Regions from separate parts of the Homo sapiens genome. Here region 2 is linked to region 1. The links are contacts of gene promoters, found by promoter capture Hi-C in human tissues and cell types (Jung and others, 2019). All regions are on one chromosome and are shown on one strand. The core of a region is centred on a gene start or on the middle of the fragment in contact, and the rest is flanking DNA. Distances in the headings are between cores, read along the strand shown.

Region 1 (5,039 bases), core at 680-3,179:
GATTGGGGTGGGTGCCACGGAGTAGGAACCCGGCAAGACTGTGTTACAACTATCTTTGTATGGGTTGATAAGGCTTGGACTAACTTTGCTCCTGTTTTCTTCGTGGGGACATGGGGAAACATGAACCTGGCAACCAAAAATGGCAAAAGCACGTGTAGGTGGATGTTTAATGCTAGAAGGCAAAGTTCCCTCTATAGTTACTTTTTTTTGTTGATTTGTTTGTTTGAGACGGAGTCTCACTCTGTTGCCCAGGCTAGAGTGCAGTGGCGCAATCTCGGCTTAATGCAACCTCAACCTCCCGGGTTCAAGTGATTCTCCTGCTTTAGCCTCCTGAGTAGCTGGGATTACAAGCGCGCGCCACCACGCCCTCCTAATTTTTTGTCTTTTTTTTTTTTTTTTTTTTTGAGACGGAGTTTCGCTCTGTCGCCCAGGCTGGAGTGCAGTGGCGCGATCTCGACTCACTGCAAGCTCCGCCTCCCGGGTTCACGCCATTCTCCTGCCTCAGCCTCCTGTGTAGCTGGGACTACAGGCACGCGCCACCATGCCCGGCTAATTTTTGTATTTTTAGTAGAGACGGGGTTTCACCGTGTTAGCCAGGATGGTCTCGATCTCCTGACCTCGTGATCCGCCCGTCTCGGCCTCCCAAAGTGCTGGGATTACAGGCGTGAGCCACCGCGCCCGGCCAATTTTTTGTCTTTTAAGTAAAGATGTGGTTTCACCATGTTGGCCAGGCTGGCCTTGAACTCCTGACTTCAGGTGATCCACCCGCCTCGGTCTTCCAAAGTGCTGAAATTACAGGCGTGAGCCACCGCGCCCAACCTTACAATTACTTTCTCATGAGATTTAAGTGCCTGGCCCTTAAGCACTACTTAAGAGCATTGCATGCACGCAGGCTCAGAGCGAAGTGTGTAGCTCAAGTTCACAGACGTGAGCAGTGGAGGCGGTAGTGGGGTGTGAGCCTTGACCAGCTCCTAACAGCTCCTCGCTCAACAGCACCGCCCGGAGCGTCCACTTCCCCCTACCCCGTAAAAAAAAAAAACAGGGCCATTGGTTCGGGTCGAGAGCCGCTTTGGGAAGCGTCTCTGTCACTAAGCGCTACCCCGGGGTGTGCGAGGGAGTCAAGGGACGCGGAGACCGGGAGCAGGGCTGGGTCCCCTTGCAGCCCCAGCGCTGGCCTCCTGCCCACCGCATTCAGGCGCTGCGCCGCCCTCACACCCACCCTCTCCCACCTCAGCAGCGTGCGGGGGAAGCCTCGCGCCGGGGTCTTTTTCAGCAAGACTGTCGCGGTCCTCGGCTTCAACTGCAAGGTAAACGGTGGCAGAGCCCCTTCCCACTCCAGCCGTGTGTGATTCTCACACTCAGTGCCCTCTCCTGCACTGGGGCGCCGGCAGTGGCGACCTAGGCTCTCCAGCCCCCGCCCAGTCCCCCGCGTGCGGGCGCCGGGACCGCAGTACCTGTGACGCCGAAGCCCAGCAGGCCGCAGACGGGAGCCACGCGCGGCCCTGGCACAGGGTAAAAACCTACGCTCAGGTAGGCGGGCAGCCACGATGTCGGGCAAGCCCAGGGCAGACCCCCGGTGGCGCACAGGGAAGCAGCGGTCCAGAAGGCCGGGTGGACGCAGGCGGAGCCCGACGGCTGGGAGGCCGCCGGCGCGCAGGGGTCGGGCCTCGCCAGGATGGCCTCGACCGAGAAAGGGGACTCGAAGCGTCCGGGAGCGCGGGGCGTGTTCGGGCCAGTAGGGGACCTGGGCGCCGGAGAGCGGCCAGAGCGCGGAGGTCGGACCCGAGAGCCCGAGGGAGCGGGTGGCGGGCTGCCTCGCGGCCTGGGGCTAGGCATGACGCGGCCGTTGCCCGGACGGACGCAAGGAAGGGAGCTCGGGAGAAGTGAGAAGATTCTGCAAAAGGCAGCGAGCAAGACCGGTTGTCTGGGAACCTCCTGGCGCTCGGCGAAGGCTCTTAAATTTGGCGGGGCGGGGCATGGGGCGGCCTCTCCCCACTGCGGTCCGGGCGGGGCCCCCAAAGCCTGTGAGCGCCCGCTCTGTGCGAGGCAAGGTGGGCACAGCACCAAAGAGTGTGTTCCCTCCCTTCCTCCGCTTTTAAAAATGCCCACCCTGGGGCGGTCGTGGGGAGGACTCTGAGCTCGCTGGTGATCCTGGGCGAAACACCCAGCCACCGGGCTCCGTCTTTCTCCTTTGCTCACTGAAGAAGGGATGCCCGTTTCCCCGGGGCCTTGCAGAGGCGGAGCTGTGATCTGGAGAGCGGTAGGGCAGTGCCTGCGGTCTTGGCCTCAGCTGACCCGCGCCGTCCTTGACGCAGAAGCCTCGGCCAGATTCACCTAGGACCGCGCGGACTTTTTGTTTGTTTGTTTTAAAATGTAAATATTTTATTTATAAGCACAGTGATAAGTACATTTTCCATCTGGCCTCAGCCCTTTAGTTTCCCTGCCTTGAGATGCGCTGTGATTACCAATTTCGTTCTTTCTTTAATATTTTTTTTGGCCAGGTGCAGTGGCTCATGCCTGGCATCCCAGTACTTGTGTGGGAGGCCGAGGCGGGAGGATCGCTTGAGCTCAGGATTTGATTTGATTTGATTTGAGTTGATTTAGGGGTAAAAGATATGGCCACTATGTCTCTAACCTTGGACTTTTAGTATATAATTCTGTGTTTCCATACATAATTATCAGTTTTCTGTTGTGTCATTTATTCCTTCTTCAGACTGTAAATTCCTGAGCATAAGCATTAATATCTCCAATTTACATATTAGTAAATACAGCAAGAGAGGTTAACAGAACTGCCTTGTTTCAAATCCCCTAGGTATGTGGTTTTAATTTGCATTTATTTCCCTGAAGACCGTTCATTGTGAGCATCTTTTTACATGCTTATCAGCCACTTGGATATCCTCTTTTGTGTGAAGTGCCTGTTCAACTGGTTTGCTTATTTTTGTATTGGGTCACTATGTTTTTCTTATTGTAAGAGTTTTATGTATAGATAATTTGGAATCAAGTCCTTCGTTGTAATATACATAGAAGCAGATAACCTCTGTCACTCTGTGGCCTGCCTTTTCATTCTTTTAGTAGTCCTTTTTTTTTTTTTTTCTGAGATGGAGTTGCCCAGGCTAGAGTGCAGTGGCACAATCTTGGCTCACTGCAACCTTTGCCTCCCAGGTTCCAGCGATTTTCCTGCTTCAGTAGCTGGGATTACAGGCATGTGCCACCACACCCAGCTAATTTTTGTTAAGTATACCAAAAATAAAGCCAAACGAATAACAGACTTTATTTTTATTCATTTATTTATTTATTTAGAGATGGAGTTTCACTCTTGTTGCCCAGGCTGGAGTGCAATGGCACTCGGCTCACTGCAACCTCTGCCTCCTGGGTTCAAGCGATTCTCCTGCCCCAGCCTCCTGAGTAGCTGGGATTACAGGCACCCGCCACCATGCCCAGCTAATTTTTTGTATTTTTAGTAGAGATGGGGTTTCACCATGTTGTCCAGGCTGGTCTTGAACTCCTGACCTCAGGTGATCCACCCGCCTTGGCCTCCCAAAGTGCTGGGATTACAGGCGTAAGCCACCGCACCCAGCCCTACAACAGACTTTAAAAAGACCACTGAGATGGGTTAGTACATGAACTAGGCACTTTATAAAAGGAAATATCTGAATAGCTTAAAACCATATGTGGCTGGGCGCGGTGGCCCATGCCTGTAATCCCAGCACTTTGGGAGGCCAAGGCGGGCAGATCACTTGAGGTCAGGAGTTTGAGACCAGCCTGGCTAACATGGTGAAACCCCATCTCTACTAAAAATACAAAAACTAGCTGGGTGTTGTGGTGGGTGCCTGTAATCTCAGCTACTCGGAGGCTGAGGCAGGAGAATTGCTTGAACCTGGGAGGCGGAGGTTGCAGTGAGCCAAGACTGCACCACTGCACTCCAGCCTGGGCGAAAGAGCGAGACTCTGTCTCAAAAAAAAAAAAAGTATGAAACATACTGAACTCTGTGAGTCATCAGGGAAATGCAAATTCAAATCACATCGTGATCCACTATACACGCACCAGAAGATGGAAAATACCAAGGGCTGGCTGGGCACGGTGGCTCACACCTGTAAATCCCAGCACTTTAGGAGGCCAAGGCAGGTGTGAGGCTGAGGCGGGTGGATCACTTGAGGTCAGGAGTTCGAGACCAGCCTGACCAACATCGTGAAACCCCATCTCTACTAAAAATACAAAATTAGCCAGGTGTGGTGGTGCACACCTATAATCCCAGCTACCTGGGAGGCTGAGTCAGGAGAATCGCTTGAGCCTGGGAGGCGGAGGTTGTAGTGAGCCATTGCACTCCAGCCTGGGCAACAAGAGCAAAACTCTGTCTCAAAAAAAAAAAAAAAAAGAAAAAGAAAAAGAAAAAGAAAAAGAAAATACCGAGGGTTGATGATAATATGAAGCATCTGGAACTCTTATCCACTGAGTGTGGGCATATAAATTGGTAGAAACACTTTCGAAAAATGGATAAGCAGTATTTACTTAAGCTTAACCCTCTGATCCAGCAGTTCCTATCCTAGGTATAGTGTATACCCAACACAAATATACATATGTGTTTAACAAGAGACATGTTTCAGAATGTTCACAGCAGCATTATTTGCAATAGCCCCAAATCAGAAACTACCAGAATGTCTACCAACAGTAGAATAAAGTTGCGCCACTGCACTCCAGCCTGGGTGACAGAGTGAGACTCTTGTCTCAAAAAAATAAAAAAATAAAAAAACAAGGCAAACTTATCTATGCTACTAGAAGTCAGGAGAATGCTTGGGGGTGGTTAATGAGTGGCAAAGGGCATGACGGGAACTTCTGTGGTGGTAGCAGTGTTCTATTTATTTTCTTTTTTTTTGAGATTGAATTTCACTATTGTTGCCCAGACTGGAGTGCAGTAGCATGATCTTGGCTCATTGCAACCTCTGCCTCCCAGTTCAAACGATTCTCCTGCCTCAGCCTCCCAAGTAGCTGGGATTACAGGCATGTGCCACCATGCCGAGCAAATTTTGTATTTTTAATAG
Region 2 (5,039 bases), core at 938-3,437, 270 kb after region 1:
ACCGGTTGATGTGATGGGAGCCCTTCTTCTTCTGCTCGGACTCAGGCCCTTCCTCCTCCAGCTTCTGCCGTTTGTACTTTGTCCTCCGGTTCTGGAACCACACCTTCACCTGGGCCAGGGAGGGAGGGGCACAGATGAGAAACTCAGGAGGCCCCCAGAGCAGCCACTGGGGCCTCAACACTCAGGCTGAGCTGAGAGCCTGATGGGAAGACTGAGGCTACATAGGGTTAGGGGCCCCAGGCCGGGGTCCCCTCTGACCAGCTGCTCCCATGGGTCTAACATTCACAGAAGGGGATGGCAGGGCAGGAAGAGGACACAGTGGGCCAGAGAGAAGGGTGGTTTTCCTGTTCCTCTCAAACAAAGGGTCACAGAGCTGCTGTGCATCCTAGCTCCTCTAGCCCCAGCAAAGCCAAGCCAAGGTGGAGGAGTGCAGGCTCTGGAAGCCGGCAGACATGGGACTCTACGAGTTTCTAGAGGAGAGATCATAATCGCTTCTTCACAGAGTGGATGTGAGTAGTAAATGAGAGAGCCTATGACCCACTGCGTGGGTTCCCATGATCTCCCACAGGGCCTAAAGTGGACACCACCCCACGGGCCAGCCCCATGCTCTTTTCCATACAGAGAGGCAGAATGGGCATGGTTTCATAACTAGGAGGTGGTGTTTATATCAAGAGCAGTGCCTGGACAGCCAGACTATCCCTGGGGGCACAGAACCCGCTGCTAGAGACTCCAACCTCACACACTGTGTGGTCTCCTTCAGGGGAGGCTTTCTTAGCAACCTCATGTAGCTCTCTCCCACCCCTCATCAGAGGCTGGAGCTGGGCAGGTGGGGGGCCTTGTCCCTCAGGTGCCAGCTCCTCAGGGTAGTCCGAAATCCACCAGTGAGACCTCATTCTCCTTGGACAGACAAGGACAGGGAGGAAGCGGGTCTGAGGGCAGCATTCTGCCCTTCACGGGCAGCTCCAGACCTTCTGTCCCCACAGCACTGGCTCCTGCAGCCCATCCAGATGTGGGAACAGGTCACACAAGGAACAGTCAGGAGAAGCCCAGGGGACAGAAGTGAGCTCTACTTTGAACCCAGGGAGCCCCCTATTCTGTGTCTGGCAGTGAGAGCCCTGGCAAGGTATGGGGTGGGGTTCAAACAGAAACTGGACAACCATCCTCCATGATGGAGGAGGCATGAGGCAGAGGGCAGGTCTATGGTTCTAAGCCATCTCCTCCAGGAAGCCTCTTTTCCCTCCTCCTCCAGCATCTGTTCAGTGTCCAGGACACAGCCCTTAATGTCCTCTCATGCATAATCTGGGAGGCTCATCCTGGCTCCTGGACTGGACTTAGTGCTTGTGGGCTGTGGAGAAAGCCTTCATCTGTCAACTCTCCCTGACTCCGTGGTTCTTTACTTGGCTTTGCAGAGTCAGGCCAGACCCAAACCATCTTCAGCGTTGGCAGGAGGATCCTGGGTACTGATTCTCAGCTAAGTCCCTTCCCCCTCTGGGCTTCAGTCCTTCATGCATAGAGGAAATGTTCTGGGGACACTTGCAGCTGCCAGGGCACCTCTTGGATTCTTGCTCCAGAGGCCCCCCTTGGGGAGGAGGTGCAGAGGGCAGGCTACAAGGCCTGGATGGTTTCCAGGAAATGACAGCACATTTAAAAGCAAGTGGATGTGGCCAACTGCAGCTGTGCAGACGGTGCTGCGTGGCAGAGTTGCGGGTGAGGAATGGTGGGTAGCCTCTTGGTTTTGGCAGCAGCAATGATGCTGAGGAGAGATCCTTGAACCCTGGGCAGGGCTGAGGGCAGGCCTCAGAAAGACTGCTCCTGCTCCCAGAGAACTGGGTAAAGCACAGGCCTTAGCCACAAGGCCAAGCAGTGCATGCAGAGGCAGGCCTGGCCCCTGTGCCCTGCAGATGGTTTCATGCCCAGGAGGTGCTGCCCCTACACCCTTCCCAGGCAGTCCTCTCTGTCCCACCTACCCCAGGACTTCCCCTCACAGTCCCCTCTTGCCAGAACTTCCACTGCGCCATCTGCCCTTGTTTGAGAGCACTGATTTTAGAGCACTGGCATGGGGATGGGGGCAGCTGGCATTCAGTGCCTGCAGAGCAGCCAGCCAGGGGCTGGAAAGCTGGCCCAGGAAGGGTTGGTGCCCGGCCTCGATGGATGGAGTGAGGGCAAGGGGATTCTCCCCTCATTTCCAAGCCCATAGCCTGCACATCTCACCTAGGCCGGCCGTGGAGGATGGCAGAGGCTCTGGGCACAGGCTGCTGGACTCCAAGCCCACCTATCTTTGGGCGCAGGGCCACCTGGACCCTGGGTGGTTCTCAGCACAACCATTTGGCAGCAGCCTGGCCCCTGCCCCCCACCCTGGAGCCTGCTATGACTGTGCCAGTCAGTGGGCGGGTGAGCTCACCCTGCCTCCTGTGCGTGACTCAGGGCCAGATGCAGGGCCGGGGTGTCATTCCTGAGAAGCCCAAGTGGGCTGGCCGAAGGTGACTGTCAGGTGATGCGGGCAGTACCAGGGACCGGGGGCCCTTTTCTGTACCTTCCTCTTTCCACATGCATTTCCAAGTGTCCTTCAGGAAGGAGACTGACGGTCACATTGGCCTGTAGTGGGACGGGCCCAGCATGCTGCCCTTGACTAGCAACACTGGCTCAAAGAAGGAAAGCTTTGGATGGCGACTTCAGGCACAGGATAGGCCAGAGGCAGCTTCCTAGGGCACCCAAGTGAAAGGTGATTCTGAATATTTTCTCCATGAAAAATACTGGGGTCAAGTAGGCATCTCTCTAGAGGCAGGGACATAAACCCTCTCCCTGTGCAGCCTGGCCATCTTCCGGAGAACAGCCTTGGGCTGAGTGTCCAGATGCTGTTTACAAAGACTGCAATAACAGGGTAGTGCTTATGACTTCATAGCATTAATGGAAACGCCAGGATGCACAAGGCTGGCACAGTGTGATCACAACCATAGAAAAACAAAATCTACACACGGGGAAAAAAGACTAGAAGGAAATATACCTAAAGTGTGGGTGATGTTTCTTTCTTCTTTCTACTTTTCTGAATTTTCCTTAATAGATTATTGATAATGGTAGTTATTTTTTACTTGGAAAAAGAAAAGGAACTGGGCTCTGAGTGTATTAGGAGATGAGAGTGACATTTCATGACCTCTCCAACCCAGCCAGGCAACTCTGGATCCTTCAGAGCCCCTTCCCTAGAGAAAACAGGCCCTGGAAAGGAGCTGGGTCATATGGTATGGCTTGGAGGCTGGATCTGTCCTGCACATGCCTCCCCATCCCCAACACAAACACACTACTCACCTCTCTCTAAGCCCCGAGGTACAGTTGGAATGTTAGCTGGAGGACCCCTTGCCCACTCTGACCTCTCTGCTGTAGCAAGAGGTCCCTTGTGGTCTCCCAAGTCCTCATTTCACTGTGAAGTGAACATCTCAGTTTCTCAGAGGCCACATCCTTCCAAAAGTCTCCATTCTCCTGACTTACCAACCCTGGAATACTCTCCTTAGCCTTCAAGACCCTGTCCTGATGTTCCTTAATGGTCCTGCCCCATCACCTGCCTGTAGTTCCTTAGTACCTCTTCCCAGTCTCAGTAACAGTGACCCCCACTGTGCACTAATTTATTTATTTACGTCTGCCTCCTCACCAGACTATGAGACTGGAGAGCCAAACTGTTATGTTAGTCCCAGTGCCCTGCCCAGAGGACATGTTCCATGTATAGTCATCTGGCTGGACAAGCCTATGCTCTAGGCAAGAGGTACCTGGGCCAGACCTGGAAAACAGGAGAAAATGAACAGAAGAGGGGTAGAATTCTAATCAGCAAAGGCTTTGAGAAGTGCTCAATGATGGAGAAACTGGATCTTTTTCTTAGTTTTGTGGACACTTTTGCAAGAGGGCCAGTTTTTAATATTCCACATGGTAAATTGGATTGGCCACTTTTAGGGGAAGTTGGAGGAGGGACACCTACTGCTGGGCAGAAGAAGGGTTGGCTTGAGTCAGGCAGAATGAAGAAGGTGAAACTGCTATGGATGAATGAATGTATCAGTTTGCTAGAGGACTGATCAATGTATGCATTAATAAATGAAGACATGCATGCAAGAACAAAGGGAAAAATGAACTAACAAACAAGCAAACTATGGCTCCAGCCGATATTTCAGAACTAATCAGACTTTACTTTGGAATAATCTGCTATTCTGAATGAACGAGGTCTGGATCCCTTCTTTTTCACCACTCCTGCAAATGGAAAAGTCTGTGGCTCCAGGCCCCTGCACACTTTCAGGTGAATACGTGTCCTGTCTTCAAAGATTTCAAATATCCCAGAATGGACAGGAGCCTGGAGATATCAGTCAAGTCACCCCTCAGCTTTCTCTCTTCCCTGGGGACCCATTTCCTATCATTTGATCATGTGGGCTGTTCCCACTCTCAAGGTCAAGCCCAATCAATGCCATGCTAAGTTCAACCTTCACCTCAGTAAGCTGAGGTCACCTCCAGCTCCCCACCAACCATAACCATGATCTCCCTAAGCCTCCCTGTCTCCTCCTCTTTCAGCCCAGCCTGGACCCTTCCTCTGTCTCTCTCAGGGAGACATCATAAGATTCACCTCAGGACATGTTGGTCCCAGCTCCTCACAGAACCACTCTAATCTCCTTTATCTCCCCCTCATCCTCCCACACAGGACTCCTGGAACATGAGATGCAGAAGTTCTTGAAGAAAAGCCAAGACTTAGAGAAGAGATGTGGACACACCGTGAGCTAGGAACAAATGTCTCTTGATTTTTCCCTAAAATTCAGGTCACTTGGATATCCCCCTCTTATCCATCCCTCTAAGGCCAGAACATTCCAGAGCAGGAAAGGACCCTCCAAATCCTCCTTTCCATGCCTCTGAGGGGAAAAAGCCATAGGCAGGTGACCGTAACTCCTGCCTCCCAAGATCTCCCTGCCCTTGGGCTCCAAGATGGTGGCTCTATCTTCATCTGCCTGCCTCAAACCCTGCCCTTCTTTCCCTCCAACCTAGGATCCTAGGCATCCCCCCAAGTCTTCCAG

What was found. The method cuts DNA at HindIII sites, captures the fragments that hold promoters and counts their contacts. A contact is called where the count stands out against the background at its distance.
Region 2: a fragment that was not itself captured here is called in contact with the fragment with the promoter of NOTO in region 1 in 2 of the 25 tissues and cell types used here (spleen and thymus).

Annotation. Positions count from the first base shown.
Region 1 is chr2:73,199,464-73,204,502 of GRCh38, reverse strand. It overlaps NOTO (notochord homeobox), which reads right to left and starts at 1,929. Exons shown (of 3, transcript NM_001134462.2): 1 at 1,455-1,929. The coding sequence starts at 1,836. RefSeq lists an enhancer at 535-1,086. The HindIII fragment of the contact is 15,336 bases long and covers 1-5,039 here.
Region 2 is chr2:72,928,857-72,933,895 of GRCh38, reverse strand. EMX1 (empty spiracles homeobox 1) reads right to left here. Exons shown (of 3, transcript NM_004097.3): 3 at 1-109. Among named protein-coding and RNA genes, the nearest start is that of EMX1, 14 kb to the right of the region's middle. The HindIII fragment of the contact is 3,445 bases long and covers 465-3,909 here.